Regions from separate parts of the Homo sapiens genome. Here region 2 is linked to region 1. Evidence: promoter capture Hi-C in 16 types of primary human blood cells and fetal thymus (Javierre and others, 2016). All regions are on one chromosome and are shown on one strand. The core of a region is centred on a gene start or on the middle of the fragment in contact, and the rest is flanking DNA. Distances in the headings are between cores, read along the strand shown. Region 1 holds the start of PRPH2 (peripherin 2). Region 2 holds the start of C6orf132 (chromosome 6 open reading frame 132).

Evidence for each region. Contacts are between HindIII fragments. The CHiCAGO score rates a contact against its expected background, and 5 or more counts as called.
Region 2: the fragment with the promoter of C6orf132 here is called in contact with the fragment with the promoter of PRPH2 in region 1 in 1 of 17 cell types (neutrophils); the score reaches 6.7 in neutrophils.

Annotation. Positions count from the first base shown.
Region 1 is chr6:42,720,191-42,725,667 of GRCh38, forward strand. It overlaps PRPH2 (peripherin 2), which reads right to left and starts at 2,407. Exons shown (of 3, transcript NM_000322.5): 1 at 1,564-2,407. The coding sequence starts at 2,144. The HindIII fragment of the contact is 19,648 bases long and covers 1-5,477 here.
Region 2 is chr6:42,140,229-42,146,457 of GRCh38, forward strand. It overlaps C6orf132 (chromosome 6 open reading frame 132), which reads right to left and starts at 2,392. Exons shown (of 5, transcript NM_001164446.3): 1 at 2,072-2,392. The coding sequence starts at 2,216. RefSeq lists an enhancer at 967-1,646. The HindIII fragment of the contact is 4,430 bases long and covers 1-3,820 here.

The DNA of each region.
Region 1 (5,477 bases), core at 1,157-3,656:
TAATTCCTTCACTCTGATACAAAAGGGGATTTGGAGTTACCGAGAGATTTGAATACATCTGTCCAAGAACTGACTCTATGCAGGAGACAATCAAGGGAAATGATAGAGGAAAAGATGAAAAGCCCCTTCTCTGTGAGCCTCTGCTCACAGAGGCTGGTTCTACCATCGGCCTCTCCCACTCCCCAGAATTCTGCTTGTCCCCCTGGCTTCATGCCCTCCTCGGGAGATTTATGTAAATCGTGGCATCTTGTGCTGCCCCTGCAGACCTGTCACCTGGGAAGGGCACAGCCCTTTACAATCCTCTCCTGACTGGGGATTTGCAGCAGTAATCTCCATCCACAAGAAAATAAAATCCCAAGAAGTGACCTTCACTTGGACGTCCCTTCCATCTGCAGGGCAGATATAAGCTAGCTATTTGGGCGTCATTAATGTTGTTTTGGGCTTCAAACATGTCCTGCTGCTGGTGCCAATGCCCTGAGTTCAAGTTCCCTTTGGACTTGCCAGCCTCACTGGGAAGAAAAAAAAACCACCCTTAGGAATAACTGAACCCCTAACCTCAGCCAGGTAGGGTCGAGTCAGACAGAAAGAAGAGGTGAGGGAAAGCGGCTGCCTCAAGGCAGGCTGCCCTTTCCCTGAAAAGTCACTCGAGCCCCAGGTTGGTGGGTGTGTTGGGAAGAGCAGCCCGCTGGAGCCAGTGCACAGGCTGTTCCCTCCGACACAGTGGTCGAGAGTCTCTCTCTCACCAGCACCTCCCACAGCCCATCGCAGCATTTTACTTTTACATATGCCAAGAATACTTTAGAAATGCTTTATCACATTGCACTATCATGACTCGCTAAGTAAACACCAGCAAGCATTTAATGAGTACCTGCTGCATGCCAGCTACCAGGCAGGGCTAGGAGGTGACTTCCAAAATTACCTATTCTATTCCAGTGCTCATTTAAAAGATGGGCAAGCCAAAGCGCAGAGTGACTAGTGACCTGCCCAAGGTCACAAGACCTTGAACAACAGAACCAAAACTTCACCCTAGATCTCATGACTTCCCCTTCCTATGCTCTTTCCAACATATCCAGACAAACATCTTGGGAATGGATGCTCAGGGTTGAAAGGTTGGAAAACAAGGGAACTAACTAGGAAATTTAAACTTCTGGGACTGAATCCATCTACTTTGAATGAATGGGACAAATAGCCAAATAGTACCTCAGTGTTTGTGATCTATGAATGACTTCCATCCCTCTGTATAAAGTGGACACACATTGCTGCCTGGCTCTTCATCCCAAGGGGCTCCTATCCAAACAGCTTATATAAATTGATACCTTCCTACCACCTTAGCCAATGTTAGGTTGAACCCTATGAAGTTGTCATTTTTTATGGGTCAAAGAGGTAGAATATTAGCAATTTCATATGGTTCCACCTGATACACCCTCACATACGCAGCAATAAGTTGTGCACCCGATGGAGAGGAAAAGGCACTGGGTGCGGGGAGAGGGGCTGGTCAGAGGCCTGAGCCTCAGTGTCCCCAATATATTCATAGCTCTGACCCCAGGACTGGAAGCCACTCACTCTTTGACTTCTTTGGAGGAAAAGTCCAGGTAGCGATTGCTGATCCACTGAATCTCAAACCAGTCCCGAAAACCGTTGTTGCCGCAGCATTTGAACTCGATCTGCAGCATGTCGATGGTCTTCTTCATGAAACACCTGCCAGGGGTGTCTGTGTCCCGGTAGTACTTCATGCCGTTCTTGAGCCCTTGGCCCAGGGTGTTCTCCAGCGAGCCCCGAAGCAGAAAGCAGCAGAGAGCCACAAGGAAGAGGATGATGTTGAAGAGAACACAGATAGCCAGGTACGGCTTCAGCCAGGGCTTCCATCTGGCATACTTGGCTGGGTCCAGGGCGTCGTAGCAGATCTTCCCAGCCAGCGAGTTGAAGACACAGGATAGCACCCCCATCCCTATCAATGAGTTGGGCACAAAATGGCTCTCAGAATTATTCATCACATCGCTCCTCTTTCGGAGTTCAATCTTCAGGAACAGTCCTAGGCTGAAGATGATGATGCCAGCCAACACGGAGAACCAGTTCATGAGCCAGAGCCCTTGGGCCAACTTGACCCGCTTCTTCTGGTCAAACTTGACTTTCAGTAGCGCCATGCTTGCCAAGTGTAGTCCGGGTTGCTTCCCACAGCACAGCTCCCACCCCAAACCTTAACGAGCCCAGAGGCGGAGACTTAGGGCCTTGGGAAAAGTGCAGATGGCCCAAGCTGTAGGGAGCTGCCCTGGGGGCTACCCATGTCGAGTCCCACTAGCCTGGGATCCCCGTGAATGCAGTAGTGGTGGCAGGGGTCTCGGAATCACAGCTTGAGCAGGGGATAGTCCTGGTCCTGGGCGTTGTTTCTTCAGCGCCCTTCCCAGCCAAGAAGGGGCAGCCTGAACGCTGCAGATTAAAAGTGGGATCCACAAGACATTTTGCTAATCTCTTTAGCCAGGTTCATCCCATTAGATAAAGCCATGCCACTCTCAAAACATGGTCAAAAGCAGCCTCCAGGTACATGCTGAACCAGAAAGCTCTGGGTACAGCTTGGAGAATCAGGAGCAAAGGGCAAGACTGGCCAGAAGAATGGGCTGTATCTGGATGTCTGGCTCAGACCGTGTTGCTCCCCAAAAGCATATTTCCAGGCCAATCTCCTTCAACATTTAAAACTTTCTGTAGGACAAATAAATTGTTATCCTCTCTGAGAAAAGAAATGACAGGGCCAGGCACAGTGGATCACGCCTATAATCCCAGCACTTTGGGAGACCAAGTTGGGTGGATCACTTGAGCCCAGGAGTTCAAGACCAGCCTGGGCTACATAGGAAGACCCCATCTCCACACACACACACACACACACAAAAAAAAAAAAAAAAAAATTAGCTGGGTATGGTGGCATGCACCTGTAGTTCTCCCAGCTACTCTGGAGGCTGAGGTGGCAAGATCACCTGAGCCTGGGGAGTTCAAGGCTGCACTGAGCCATGATCGTGCCACTGCACTCCAGCCTGGGTGACAGAGTGAGGCCCTGTCTCAAATTTTAAAAAGACAAAGAAAAGAAGAGAAGAAGGAAGGAAAGAAAGAAAGTGACAGATCGTGAGAAAACATTTGCAACTTGTAAAATTAAAAAGTAATATACAGTGGCCAGGCATGGTGGCTTATGCCTGTAATCCCAGTACTTTGGGAGGCCAAGGCAGGTGGATCGCTTGAGCCCAGGAGGTGGAGGTTGCACTGAACTGAGATCCCCACATTGCACTCCAGCCTGGGTGACAGTGAGACTCTGTCTGGAAAAAAAAAAAAAAGAATTAATATGCAAAAATGTTTTAAGTCTCACAAATTCACAATAAACAAAAATTCACAATCAAAAGACCAATAATCAACTGGAAAAATAGGCAAAAACCAGGAACAGACAATTCATAATTAGGAAACTTGAAAAGTCCAATAATCTGGAAAAGATCTCAACTTGGGTAATAAGCAGGAAAATGCAAATCCAAACAACAATAAAATACCAAACTTGGCCGGGCACAGTGGTTCACACCTGTAATCCCAGCAGTTTGGAAGGCCAAGGTGGGTGGATCACTTGAGGTCAGGCATTCAAGACCAGCCTGGCCAACATGGTGAAACCCTGTCTCTACTAAAAATACAAAAATTGTCTGGGTATGGTGACAGGCACCTGTAATCCCAGTTACTTGTGAGGCTGAGGAAGGAGCATCAATTGAACCCGGGAAGTGGAGGTTGCAGTGAGCCAAGATTGCGCCATTGCACTCCAGCCTGGGTGACAAGAGTGAAATGACGTCTCAAAAAAAGAAAAAGACCAAACTCGATCCATCAAATTGAATGTATGTCAAAATTCTGTCACCATACATCAACAAAGAGAGTGGAAGTAGAAGTGTACACTCTTGGTGAATCTGTACATTTATTATTATTATTAATTAATGGATTATTTCTTACAGTAGTTTTAGGTTTACAAAAAAATTGAACAGAAAATACAGGGAGTTCCCATTATTCTCCATCTCCCCAACCAGTTTCTCCTCTAATTAATATCTTGCATTAATGTGGTACATTTGTTACAATTAATGAACCAATATTGATGCACTATTATTAACTAAAGTCTATAGTTTACATTAAGGTTCAGTCTTTGTGCATATAATTCTGTCACTTTTGCCAAATGCATAATGTCATGTATTCATCATTATTGTATCATACAGAATACTTCCACTACTCTAATAACCTGCCATGTTCTGCCTATTCATTCCTCCTTCCCTCACTCCTCAGCCCTGGGCAACCACCGTCTAGATCTATAGTTTTGCCTTATCTAGAATATCTTACAGTTGGAATCATACAACATGTAGCCTTTTCAGACTGGCTTCTTTCCCTTAGCAATATATGTGATTAATGATTCTCTGTATCTTTTCACGGCTTAATAGCTCATTTCTTCTTATCACTGAATAACGTTTCATCACATGGATGTACCACGGTTTATTCCTTCACCTATCAGAGAATATCCTGGTTGATTCCAGTTTTTGACAATTATGAATAAAACTGCTATAAACATCCACGTGCAGGTTTTTGCTGAAAAATTTTCCATTCATCTGGGTAAATATCTAGGAGCACAATGGCTAGATTACATAGTAAGACTATGTTTAACTTTGTAAGAAACTGCCAATCTGTCTTGCAAAGTGACTGTACAATTTTGCATTCCTACCAGCAATTTTTACTTCATGTCCTTGCCAACATTTGATATTGTCAGTGTTTCAGATTTTAACCACTGTAATAGGTGTGTAGCTGCATCTTGTTTGAATTTGCAGTGCCCTAATGACATTTGATCTTTTCATGTGTCATGTGCTTATTTGCCATCTGCATATCTTCTTTGGTGAAGTGTCTGTTCAGCACTTTTGCCTGCTTTTATTTCTTTTTGAGTCAGGATCTATCTATGTTGTCCAGGCTGGTCTCCAACTACTATTCTCAAGCAATCCTCCCACCTCAGCCTCCTGAGAAGCTGGGATTACAGGTACCTGCCACAATGCCCAGCATGCTCACTTTTTAATAATGTTGTTTGTTTTCTTTAGAGTGTAAAGTTTTACAGCCCTTTGGAAGGGCAATTTAGCTATACCTATTACAATTTTCAAAAAAAAATTTTAGCGACGGAGTCTTGCTGTGTTGCCTAGGTTAGTCTCAAACTCCTTGGGCTCAAGCAATCCTTCTGCCTCAACCTCCCAAATTGCTGAGATTACAGGTGTGAGCCACCTCACCCACCCTAAAATTTAAAATGCATTAAAATTCCCAAAGATCCAATAATCTTACTTCTCAGAACAGCCTGTGCATAAGTACAAGGGCTTTTAAGAACAAACCAAGGCCATGTGTGGTGGTTCATGCCTGTAATTCCAGCACTTTGGGAGGCCAAGGCAAGTGGACCACTTGAAGTCAGGAGTTCAAGACAAGCCTGGCCAACATGGTGA
Region 2 (6,229 bases), core at 1,142-3,641, 580 kb before region 1:
GCTGATGAGGGCAGCAGCTGGCTGGAGATGACAGGGCACCAGGCCCTCTTCCCTCACCAGAGGTGCTGATGCCCACTAGCAGCCTGCACAGCCTAGGCAAAATGCAGAAGTGGCTGAGAGGCGTGGCTGAGAGGCATGGCTGAGGTCTCCCCTTGAGGGAGGAAGGGTGTGTGTGTGTGTATGTGTGTGGTATTTTCCAGGCAGATGCCCCTCAAGTAAACTTGGATCGCCTTCCTCTGCAGAGTTAATTCAGCAAACCCGCTAAGAGTGTGATCTCTGGAGCCTGACTGCCTGGATTCAAATACTAGTTCTGCCTCACAAGGGAGATTTTGGAGGTCATCGAAATGTTCTAAAACCAGATGGTGGTGATAATGGCACAACTCTGTGTAAATGGTCTACTAAAAATCATTGAATTGTGGACTTAGAAAAATGCTGCCTCCAGCATTGAAAGCTGTATGATCTTGGGCATATTACTTAACCTCCCTGTGCCTCAGTCTCCTCATCTGTCAAACAGGAATGACAATAATAGTGCCTGACTCTAGATGAGATTTCAATGAATCAGTAACACAAAGATTTTAGAATGGCATCTTGCACCTAAGAAGGGATTAATAAATGGTCTTTCCATGGTGCCTCCGTTGAGAGGGAAAGAAGTGTCCTGGCTCACAGGCACTTGCCTGCACACCTGTGTCTGGGAGTGCCTACACCATGCCTCCACTTGCCCTGCTCCTCCTGGTCTTTGCTTCTACTGTTTGTTTTGCCAGGAATGCCCTCTCCTGTCAGCTCGAATGCTAGTTCCACTCAGAGGTCATCTCTCTTCTTTGCTTTTATGCTTAATAATCATTTACAGCAAAGGCTCAGAAAGGGCTAAATGGCATATGGTTAGTTCTGTTCACCCCCTGATCTGATATCTTTGTGCCAGGAAGAGGCGACACTTTGTCCGTCCTGCTCCTATCCATGGTGCCTTGTGTCCTGGCTGTGGCAACCTGCATGCTGAACTGAGTCCAACAGCAGGCACCAAGGCTATGACATCCACTGTGGGTCCCAGCACAGTGGCTATAAAGATCAGTGAAGATAATATGGTGAGAATGAAGGCAGGCAAGCTAAAGCAGTGATGGGTGACCTTCCTTGGGCCCAGAAGCCCCCTGCCCCCCCAACCTGGGCGTTCCAGAGCCACATGTCATACACAAGAAATGGATTTCTGTCTCCAGCCGCTGGCTTCCCCTAGTTATAGAGAATACAAATTGCAAAACGATGCAATGATAAGATGACCCACAGCCAGAGCCTGGGGATGAGCCAAGGCGGTGCTTTTAGAGGCCTGCAGAGACACACCAGTCTGATTCCAGGGTCAGCGGCAGCTGGCAGTCAGGGAGAGGGTTCCTTGGCCTCCACTGTCCCATTTCTGGCTCCTCGGTCTTAGCCCAGAGACAGCCCAGGTCCCAGGTTGAACTGGCAGGAGCCTGTGGCCCCAATAAGTGACTTGGTGTCACAAACAGGCTGGTAACCTGGTAGCAGCTGCGCCTGTTGTTTTTTCCTGGGCCTCACCTAGCCAGAGCCAAGTTTGTGAGCACCCAGATAGCAGGCCCCTCTCTGCCACGTGGGCTTGGGAAACAGGGAGTGCAAAGGGTGAGGGAGGAGTTCTTAGCCCCTTAGCCCCCAGTTCTTCAGGAACACTTTTGCTTCAGCCAGAATGGGGGTGTAGCGGTGGGGGTCGGGGGAGATATCGCAAACCTCCGGAAGCCTTTCCGCTAACAGTAACACAAGCATAGGATTCGCCAAGAGGGGGAATTAAACACCTCCGAATAAGGCCTGGGGTCAGAGGTGGGGGCGGCAAAGTTCTCCCACCTCCCCGTGGTGGTGGGGGGGGTCCCCTCGTTCCCCACACCTCTCTCACCGCACAGCCCTTCCCAGACACCCCTGTGCGGTGCCTCCTCCCCTGCCCGGCGGCTGCTCTCGGCCAGTCCGCAGGTTCCAACGTGTCCCTCCCCTCCGCGCCTCCAGGAGACAGCACCGCCGGCCCTGCCCCAGCGCCCTCCGTCCCCGCCCCAGCGCCCTCCGTCCCCGGAGTACTCACCGAAGCCCCCGGTCCCCTCCTCCGGGGCCTCCTGGGTGAAGATCCAGGGCGGATTGGTGGCGTAGAGGGAGGTGCTGGGGGTCGTGGTGTGCTTCTTCCCGAAGAGTTTGCTGAAGGTGCCCTGCACCGTCTGCTTCTTTTTCATGCTGCCGCAGCCCGCGCGGGCGCCAGGGAAGGACCTTCCCTCCCTCGCCCTGCCCTGCCCCGGACTGAACTCAGCACGGTCTCCCCAGGGGACTCTACCAGGCCATGTCCCCCGCCGTCCTCCCCGCCCGCGCACCGGGCAACAGGTGCTGCGGGCGCCGCCGCTTGCCGGGAAATGCGAGCTACCTGGCCAGGTAAAAGGCAGCCGCTTGGCCGGGCCCCGCCCCGCCGCCGCCCAGCTCCCCAGGCCGCATTCCTTCCCGCCTCCTTCTACAACAGGCCATTGTTGGCACGGCCCGGTGGGCTGGGGACCTCGCCCGGCCCACGCCCAGCCTGGGAGACGGGCCACCCCCTCCCCCAGGTTCCTCCCTGCACGCCTCCTTCACCCCACTTCCCCCTAGTCCGGGAAAGGAGGCGGGTGAGTTTCCAGCCTCTCAAGGCGATTCGTGACCAGGTCAGTATGGGTACATCGGGGACAGCTCTAGTGTCCAACACGAGGGACATGGATGGCCAAAGCGAGCACGCCACGGCATCCTATAGCCCCTCAAATATGTGGGGCGTGAGGCTTCGGGGAACATCAGGAAGTGCCTGTAAGAGAAAAGTAAGCTGGGAAAAGCAAGAAAATGACAAACTAGTATACCAATCTGATGACGAGGGTGGAAAAACATCCTCATTGACAGGGCTCCGAAGAGAATGTGGGATGACGAAATCTTGGCATTCTGTGTCTGTACATCACATTGTTTTTCTTTTTCTTTTCTTTTCTTTTCTTTTTTTTTTCCTTTGGACGGAGTCTCGCTCTGTTGCCCAGGCTGGAGTGCAGTGGCGCCATCTCGGCTCACCGAAACCTCCCGGTCTCGGATTCAAGCGATTCTCCTGCCTCAGCCTCCCGAGTAGCTGGGATTACAGGCACGCACCACCACGCCCGGCTAATTTTTGTATTTTTAGTAGAGACAGGTTTTCACCATGTTAGCCAGGCTGGTCTGGAACTCCTGACCTCGTGATCTGCCGGCTTCGGCCTCCCAAAGTGCTGGGATTACAGGCGTCGGCCACCGCGCCTGGCCCACATTCTTTTTTTTCTGTGAAGTTAAGTGAATATAATTTTTGAAAACCTAAAGTGGGTAGAGCCCACTTAGGGTTGGGTTCACTCTCCAGGGAGACAAACAGTGGTACTTTAAGGCACTTAGGGTAACATCCTAGCCAAGCCAGGGGTGGCTATCCACGGGGGAAATTTCCTCCGATGAGGAGGGGGAGAGCCTGCGTGAAGATGCTGAGAGCAGAGGTGCAGGCCAAGTGGGTGGAGTTTGATGTTTTCTGGGCAGCAGGGGGCATAGGCTGGTGCAAGTTGCCATTTCTGCTGAGCTTCCGGGGGACAGGGCCCACTGCCACATTTCCCCTCAGTTTCCCCCAGATCTTACACCAAAGGCGTTTTCCCTCAACTTTTCACTCTGAAACATTTCAAACCTTCAGAGAACTTACAAGAATTGTACAATGACCACCTGTGTACCCTTCTCCCTGGATTCACCAATTGTTAACTCATTGCTAAATTCATCCCTCTCTCTCTCTGTCTCTCTCTCTCCCGGATTCTTTTCCTTTTCATTTTGCTGAAGCTTGGAAGTTGTAGATACCGTGGCCCATTTCTTAGCCTCCCCCAGTACTTCAGCATCGATGTCTAAGAGTAGGAACATTCTCCTACATGGCCACAATACAACTGTCACACTCAGGAGATCTAACATTGCCAGGCACGGTGGCTCACGCCTGTAATCCTAGCACGTTGGGAGGCCAAGGCAGGTGGATCACTTGAGGTCAAGAGTTTGAGACCAGCCTGGCCAACATGGTGAAACTCCGTCTCTACCAAAAATATTTAAAAAATCAGCTGGGCGTGGAAGTGTGTGCCTGTAATCCCAGCTACTAGGGAGGCTGAGGCAGAAGAATCACTTGAACCCGGGAGGCAGAGGTTGCAGTGAACCAAGATCATGCCATTGCACTCCAGCCTGGGCAACAAGAGTGAAACTCCGTCTCAAAAAAATTAAAAAACAGGCCAGGTGCGGTGGCTCACGCCTGTAATCCCAGCACTTTGGGAGGCCGAGGCAGGTGGATCATGAGGTCAGGAGATCGAGACCATCCTGGCTAACACGGTGAAACCCCGTCTCTACTAAAAATACAAAAAAAAAATTAGCCAGGCGTGGTGGCGGGCACCTGCAGTCCCAGCTACTCAGGAGGCTGAGGCAGGAGAATGGTGTGAACCTGGGAGGCGGAGCTTGCAGTGAGCCGAGATCGTGCCACTACACTCCAGCCTGGGCGACAGAGCAAGACTCCGTCTCAAAAAAATAAAAAAAAAAAAAATAAATAATAATAAAAAAAACAAACAAACAAAAAAAGAATTTCACAATTATCCCCTCAAATGTCATTTTAGTTTTTTTGTTCCTTTTTTTTTTTTTTTCGAGACAGAGTCTTGCTCTGTCGCCGAGGCTGGAGTGCTGTGATGCAATCTTGGCTCACTGCCACCTCCGCCTCCCGGGCTCTAACGATTCTCCTGCCTCAGCCTCCCAAGTAGCTGGGACTACAGGTACCCGCCACAATGCCCAGCTAATTTTCATATTTTTAGTAGAGATGGGGTTTCACCATGTTGGCCAGGCTGGTCTCAAACTCCTGACCTCAAGTGATCCACCCACCTCAGCCTCCCAAAATGCTGGAATTATAGGCGTGAGCCACCTTGCCAGCCAAGTGGCTCCATTTGTTTGCAACTTCTACTATATAACTATTATTATTATTATATGTATATTTTTTAGATGGAGTCTTTCTCTGTCACCCAGGCTGGAGTGCAGTGGCGCAATCTCGGCTCACTGCAACCTCCACTTCCCAGATTCAAGTGATTCTTCTGTCTAAGCCTCCCGAGTAGCTGGGATTACAGGTGCCCACCACCATGCCCGGCTAATTTTTGTATTTTTAGTAGAGATGGGGTTTTACCATGTTGGTCATTCTGGTCTTGAACTCCGGACCTCAGGTGATCCACCGGCCTTGGCTTCCCAAAGTGCTGGGATTACAGGCATGAGCCACCGCACCCGGCCTGTAACTAATATTCTTGAGAGCCACTGTGTGCCACACGCTGGGCTGTGAAAGAGCCAGAAAAATTAAAGACATGGTTCTTGAGTCCAGGTTGTTATATAGTCTGTGGAGACAGGCAGTGACCTGTGGAGAGCTGGGCAGTGGGGAGGTAACTGAAAGGAAGGAAATGAAGGGGGGAAAGTGCAGAGCAATTTGGGGGCTGCAGGATCTGGGGAGGGTAGGCAGGAGACCTCTTCAGGGGCTGAGGATGGGGGAGCTCGGAATTATCCAGTGTGTGGGAGGTCACGGCAAGGTTGGCCAAGGTGTGGAAGGCTTAAAAAGGCCACCTGGGTGGCCGGGCGCGGTGGCTCACGCCTATAATGCCAGCACTTTGGGAGGCCGAGGTGGGCAGATCATGAGGTCAGGAGTTCGAGACCAGCCTGGCAAACATGGTGAAACCCTGTCTCTACTAAAAATACAAAAATTAGCCGGGTATGGTGGCAGGCGCCTGTAATCCCAGCTACTCGGGATGCTGAGGCAGGAGAATCGCTTGAACCCGGGAGGTAGAAGTTGCAGTGAGCCGAGATCACGCCATTGCACTCCAGCCTGGAGGACAAGAGTGAGACTTTGTCTCAAAAAAAAAAAAAAAAAAGAAAGAAAGAAAGAAAAAGCCAGCTGGGGCTGGGTGCGGTGGCTCACACCTGTAATCCCAGCACTTTGGGAGGTTGAGGCGGGTGGATAACGAGGCCAAGAGATCGAGACCATCCTGACCATCCTGGCCAACATGGTAAAACCCTGTCTCTACTAAAATTACAAAAAGCTGGGCATGGTAGCGTGTGCCTGTAGTCCTAGCTACTTGGGAGGCTGAGGCAGGAGGATTGCTTGAACCTGGGAAGTGGAGGTTTTGCAGTGAGCCGAGATCACACCACTGCACTCCAGCCTGGCGACAGAGCGAGACTCCGTCCAAAA